Linked DNA regions of Homo sapiens: region 2 is linked to region 1. The links are contacts of gene promoters, found by promoter capture Hi-C in human tissues and cell types (Jung and others, 2019). All regions are on one chromosome and are shown on one strand. Each heading gives the region's core, a stretch centred on a gene start or on the middle of the fragment in contact. The rest is flanking DNA. Distances are from core to core; before and after follow the strand shown.

What was found. The method cuts DNA at HindIII sites, captures the fragments that hold promoters and counts their contacts. A contact is called where the count stands out against the background at its distance.
Region 2: a fragment that was not itself captured here is called in contact with the fragment with the promoter of GRHL1 in region 1 in 2 of the 25 tissues and cell types used here (IMR-90 fibroblasts and bladder).

The regions. Positions count from the first base shown.
Region 1 is chr2:9,949,651-9,952,942 of GRCh38, forward strand. It overlaps GRHL1 (grainyhead like transcription factor 1), which reads left to right and starts at 2,043. Exons shown (of 16, transcript NM_198182.3): 1 at 2,043-2,203. The coding sequence starts at 2,184. LOC105373422 (a long non-coding RNA gene) reads right to left here and starts at 1,203. Exons shown (of 3, transcript XR_922784.4): 1 at 1,055-1,203. RefSeq lists silencers at 1,274-1,353, 1,504-1,553, 1,654-1,703, 1,794-2,333. The HindIII fragment of the contact is 17,390 bases long and covers 1-3,292 here.
Region 2 is chr2:9,850,103-9,853,273 of GRCh38, forward strand. It overlaps TAF1B (TATA-box binding protein associated factor, RNA polymerase I subunit B), which reads left to right. Exons shown (of 15, transcript NM_005680.3): 4 at 1,439-1,536. Among named protein-coding and RNA genes, the nearest start is that of TAF1B, 8.2 kb to the left of the region's middle. The HindIII fragment of the contact is 6,134 bases long and covers 1-3,171 here.

The DNA.
Region 1 (3,292 bases), core at 793-3,292:
AACTGCGAAGGGCGGTCTCAAGTGAGGCTGCCGATTCCGGTCCCTGAAGGCCTTGGACCAGGGCACAGAGGAGGGACTGCTGGCTGCAGGAGGGCCCTGTGACCTCATGCTGCTCCTCACTTCACCTCCTTCCCTTGGCTTCCACGCTTCCATTGCTTCCGACCTCGGTGTCCCCGTCTTCTGTCTCCTCCACTGGCTCTTCCTCCCAGCCTTTCTGTGTCGGAGGCTCCTGGATCCAGCATGGGTCCCATCCTCTTTCCTTCCTGCCTTCTCATGGCTTTAAATGGCCTCTAGACGTGGGCGGCGCCCAGATGTGAGCTTCAGCCCAGACTTCTCCCTTGCACTCCAGCCTCGTACCCAGGAGCCCACCTGATTCATGGATTTTTATCTCCCATACATCTTGAGCTTAGCACGTCCAAAACAGACTCTCGTTCTCCCCCAAATCTTCTATGCCCCAGGTCTTCTGTATCCCAGGGGATGGCAAATCATTCCTCCAGTTGCCCAGCTGGAAACGCTGTAGTCATCCTTGATTCTCTCTTTCTCTCACACCCCATATCCAATTTTCAGACAATCCTGCTGGTCCCACCTTCAAAGCATATCCAGAATTCGGCCACTTCCCACCACCTCACTCTATTGCCCTCGGCCTGCATCATGGCAATGGCCTCCTACCTGGTCCCCACCACGCAGCAGCAGAGAACTATTTTAAAATGTGAGACCCTGTCACTACCCTGCTCCAAGCCCCTCCAAGGCGTCCCCACCTAGCCCAGAGGGAAAGCCACAGTCCTTACGGAAGCCGGCAAGGCCCTGCTCAATCCGCTCCCCTGCGCCCACTATCTCTGACCGCAGCTCCCGCCTCCCTGTGCCCCACCAGCCACCCGGGTCTCCTCAAGGGTCACAAAACACACCAGGGTCCCTGCCTCAGGTACAGTCCCACCTTCGTGGCCCCTCATCTCCTTCAAGCCTGAAAGCCTCGCTCCTCCCCGCCTCCCCAGGGCCTGCCTGCTTTACCTTCCAACCAGCCACACCATTTACTTGTTTTTGTATTGCCCGTTACCCCAACTAGGAAGGCGAGGAGTTGTGTCTGTTCTGTTGACTGCCCTGTCCCCGGCGTCTGGGGCCGCGCCTGTCCGAGGGTCAGGTCCGACGCTGGGCATGTGGGGACTCAGTGAGCGGACCCTGGGAAAGACGGCAGCTCGGGAAGGACAAGTGGGGGCCGTCGCGGTGGAGTGGTGCCCGGGGCCGGCCCGGGGCGCGCGACTGCACGGGCAGCGTGGGGCGGCCGCGCGGGGAAGTGGCGCCCGGGAGGCTGCGGGGCACAGACATCGCGGAGCCCCAGGGACTGCCGCCGAGGGGACCGCGGGAGCTGCGAGGGCAAGAAATCCTAAAAGCGCGCGGCCGCGGTGGGCCAGGAGAAGGGACATTCCGGAGACGGCTCTCGGGGGAAGCCACGGGACTCGGGCGTGACAGCCTGCGAGAACCGAGAGGTGAGACGCGCGACCGGGGAGCGCGGCGACCGGCAGAGGCGCCCCCGCCGGGCGAGCGCAGGGGCAGCGCGGGGCGCTGGGGCCGGAACAGCGGGCAATGTGGGCACGGGGCGCGGAGGCCTGAGTGAGCGAAGAAGGAGGCGGCTGTACGGCCGGGGCTCGTCGCGAAGGGGATGGCCGGGGACGGCGGGGACGGCGGGGGCGGCGGGGGCGGTGGCGGGGCGCGAGCGGGGGCGCTCTCGGTGCGCGCGGAGGTTGGCGGGTGCGCGCCGCAGCCGCAGCGCTCCCTCTCCTGTCAGGGCAGGCGCGTACGGCCGCGAGTCGGGCGCGCAGCCCCGGGAGCGCAGTCCCGGGCGCAACCTCGCGGAACGCGCGGCCCCCGCCCCCCGCCCCGCGCCGCTCGTCCCCGTCAGCCCCGCCCCGGCGCTCTTCTCGCCGACCAATCAGGAGGCGCGACCGGCCTCCCAGCCCCGAGGCCTCGCCCCCAGCCGGCGCATCGCCAGCCAATGAGCGGCCGAGCCCGGCGCCCAGTGCGCGCAGCCCGCGCGGAGCCGGCTCAGAGCGAGAAAAGCAAACCCAACCCGTCGGGGCCGCCGCTCCGGACCCGCAGCCGCCGCCGCCGCCTCCTCCCCCCGGATCGGGTGTACTGTCCCAACCCGAAAGTCCAGTTCTGCGGCCCGGCAGCGGCGAGCGGGCGCGATGACACAGGAGTACGACAAGTGAGTGAGGCGCAGGAGTCCGGCCGCCGCGGGGGGGCCGCGCTGAGGGGCCGCACCTGCAGCGAGCGAGCCGGGCGCAGACCCGAGGCCGCGCGGGCGGGCGGGCGCGGGGCGCGAGCCGGGGGCCGCTGTCCACTCCACGCCGCCACGGCCTTTGCCCCTTAGCCCTGCCGTGCTCTTTGTTCGGTCGGAGCCTCGGGAGGAGAGACCCTGTCCTCGGGGAAACTCGACACCGGAGGGGCCACCCTCCTCCCCTCCTCCGCGGCCAGGTTGGGTCCCCTCGGGCGCGCACCTTGGGGTCCGGGCCCCCGGCGCGGTCGGGTGCGGCGCGAGGTCGGGGCGCAGCCAACGCCCCCGGGCCTCCCCGCCCCCCTCTCCTGCCCGGTCGGCCTCGGGAGCCTGGTGGGGCTCGCGCCGCGTCGGGACAGGTGGACTTCTCCAGGTAATCTGTGGTCTCAGGCTCGTCACTCGGCGACCTGCTGGAACCTCCAAAACAGAAATGTAGGGAAAGGTTGAAGTGCCCCGATGTCCGGGCGTTTTCTTTTCCCTGGCTGGCGGCATGAGTGGGAAAACGGCTGTAGGAGTTATTTTGCCACTTGCATCATTGATGGTAATTACAGATTACCGTGTTTTTAGTGCTCGAGAGAATCAAGAGGATGAAACTTTGAAATCCGGGTGTTAAACGAGAAAGTACTGTACAAGCTAATATGCTTTTTAGAGTGTGTGATTTAAAAGCGTATTTCGACAAATGTGAGGTGGTAGTGTAATAAGGCATGGGGGATTAACTGGGCGAGGGAGTTTTCTGTATTTTCTTTGCAGCTTTTCTGAAAATATAAAATTGTCCTAAAAATTTTAAAAACTTACTAAAGAAAAAACAGGGAAATCGCACCAGGCCAGTCAGTATATTTCAGATCAGGAAGTTTAAGGCAGATAGGTACCCCTCCCAGTTTCTTAGTTATTTGTGAAGGATCGGTTTTTGTCAGTGTGTTCTTTTTCTGGATGAGATAGATATTTTGTATGGAGTATCTTAAATGGATTACTCTTATGTTGTAGAATATGCAGTTAAATTATTGCCTGAAACATATTTCA
Region 2 (3,171 bases), core at 57-2,556, 100 kb before region 1:
ACTGCCTAGGTGCTGTCTCATGTTTCTGCTTAGCCTTTAGTAGTGACTTTTTATTAGGCTAAAACCTGATTAACTTTTAAATTTTATTGGAGTAAAACCTGATTAATTTTGCCTTGACCTACTTAAATAGTTAAAATGTGTAGTTTAAACATGCATTTCTTAAGGAACTTCAGGTGCTTTATATTAGGTGTTAAGTATCTTATAGTCAACCTCATCACCCTTAATTTCTTCATTTGTAAAATGAGAATAAAATGCCATCCATTATGGAAAATAGGAACACAGACTCAAAATTTAAAATACAACTTTATCAGTTTCTAAGAACAGTATGCAGGAAGAGGGAGTATATGCATATAGCTTGAAGAGTTTAAACTTCCTCGACTTATGGACCCATCAAAATTATTGGCTTTTGAGACAATTCGAGACCCTTTCTGGGAAGGAATTGGGTTAGTTAGCAGAGGTGGGGAGACTTTGTGACATTCAGGTAAGGGAGAAGAGTTGAAGTCCTCTGGCATTCTGCAGAGAAGAGATCTTGAAGTCAGTAACACACCTCAGAAGCTCTGTGTAAAAAGTACTGATAACAAGCTTTTGGAAGAGTTACAGTATTTGTCCAGCAGTGAGGGGCAAAACATAAGGGTCTTCACAGACTTTTCCTTCAGCTCGTAGTTGTCATTAAACATGTAACTCTGTCTATTGTGGTGGCAGGTTTCTTCACAATCTCTTAGGGTAGTTTTGAGTATTCCAGAAAATAACCCACGTAAGATACCTGGCACACACTTGGCACCTAGGCTGAGATCAGTATTAGTACCTTGCTTTCATTTTCTCCCTATAACCTAGAACCATTTCAGGAAAAGCAGAATGCCATTGAGCAGTTTATTTTCTTTGAATGTTCTTACTGCCCTTTTCTATACTCCGGTATCATGAGATCGTGACATTCGTTCACTCATTCACTAACAGTTCACTGTTCCCTTGTGAGTTGGAACAGAAAAGTGGTGGAAGCAGTGACTTAGTCCTTTCATTTAGGATTCTGCTGGGCATCGTTCATCATTTAGGATTCTGCTGGGCATTGTTCGGGAAAATAGACATTTTTAAAACTCGTTTCACTTTTTTTTAACATGGTGACTATTCATTTTTCTGCCTCTTAGGTTAATATTTCAGAAAAATACAGATAATGGAAAACATTTGAAATCGGAAATTATACAAAATATTTAGTTTCAGCATTTGTGTACACATTGCCAGGTTGGAAACAAGAGAATATAAGAATGGAAGCCCTCTTGAATGGTACAAAAAAATTCAAGATGCTAAGCTGCTAAGTTCTGGGTTAATTGAAAAAAAAAGAAAAATTCAAGTCGCAATGTGTAAAACACAAATTGTAACTGTAGTAGCATTAAAGTTAGTAAATTAGGAATGTATATGCTAAAACATGCTATTTGTCATTTAGAAAAAGGCTGGGATTGGTATGTGTGTGAAGGTTTCCAGTATATTCTTTATCAACAAGCAGAAGCCTTAAAGAACCTTGGAGTAGGCCCAGAGTTAAAGGTAAGTACATTTGTGACTAGATGTTAGCTTTACATATTTTTGTTTAAAGAACAGTAAGACTTATAGTGGAACTAAGGAGAAATCAGTAGTAACACTAGGGCTACTGGAAGAATAATTTTTCTGATGTTTTTGCTTTAATCCTTTTAGTAGGTTAGCAGTTCTGGAAGTGTGTTCTACAGGATGTAAATAAGCAATACATCCAAAAGAAAAATTTAAAGGTTTTAGTCTTCAGATACTTAGGAAACAACAGGTTAAACAAAGTAAAACTCAAATAACTTTGGGGGTTTATTAGTACCTTTTGTGTGTTAATGTGCTTGTTTAATTTCCAGGGAATGTCCTGTGTGTTATTCACAATTTGAGAACAAAATCGTTTGGTGTATGTACATAACGTCCATCAGGACTTGAGTTCCACAGAATGCACTTTGGACAGCGATATGCTAAACCAGTCGTTCACCTGAGTGCATCAGAATCACCTGGAGTGCTTGAAAAAACACCAATCACTGGACCTTAATCCCCGAATTTCTGAGTTAGTATGTCTGGAGTAGAGCCCAAGAATGTGCATTTCTAACAAGTTCTTATGGGACACCCATGCTTCTGGTCTGGGGACCACTCTTTGACTTTGCTGCCTTCCTGGAGCAACACAGTATTTCTGCAATTATTTGAATTTCATATTCCTTCATCTAGTAAAAGTCATTTAAGGAATGCTTTAAAAAGCCAGTTATTTAGCAACAAGTTGTTCACTTGCTTCATATGCTTCATTGGAAACCAAGTGTTGAGAGGTCCAGCCTAGTTGGGGAGAGGGATTTATGCATATGTGAAATGAATAGACATGAATTTATATGGTGATATGCTAAGTGATTTTTTTTTTTAAGAGACGGAGTCTCGCTCTGTTGCCCAGGCTGGAGTGCACTGGCATGATCTTCGCTCACTGCAACCTCCACCTCCCGTGTTCAAGCAATTCTCCTGTCTCAGCCTCCCGAGTAGCTGGGACTACAGGCACACACTGCTATACCCAGCTAATTTTTTCTATTTTAGTATAGATGGGGTTTCACCATGTTGCTCAGCCTGGGCTCAAACTCCTGAGCTCAGGCAATCTGCCCATCTCGGCCTCTCAAAGTGCTAGGATTATAGGCATGAGCCCCAGCACCTGGCCCTCATAAGTGATATTAAAGGCAAAAAAAGAACAGAGAAAGATCAACATGGGCTGCAGTCACCAAGGAAAGATTTGTAGAGGAGCCTTTGCTGTTCAAACTGGTGGTTGGGGCAAGTCCAAACAGAACAACCACGATTTCAGTGCATGGCCTAAATGGATGCTGGGCCTACCCTGAAAGGCGTTAAGAATTAAAAATTCAGAAGCATGAAGCAACAGAGGCTAACCCATAATAGTCATTGCATTAGGTATGATAGCTGATAGTGGGGGGGTTGTGATCTGATTTCTGCTTACATAGTCATTTTATGTATAAATGTTTAGAAACAGTTTTATATAGTTACACTATATAGCTGTAGCAGGGTTTGTTCCTATGTAGCTTTATGCTCACCTCATTAGGGGTTAATTCTGAAAACAATTTTTCTGAAATTAGCCAATGAGCATAACTGTTTAGACCTGATCAGTTGAGTGGCATTATGCCATGTACA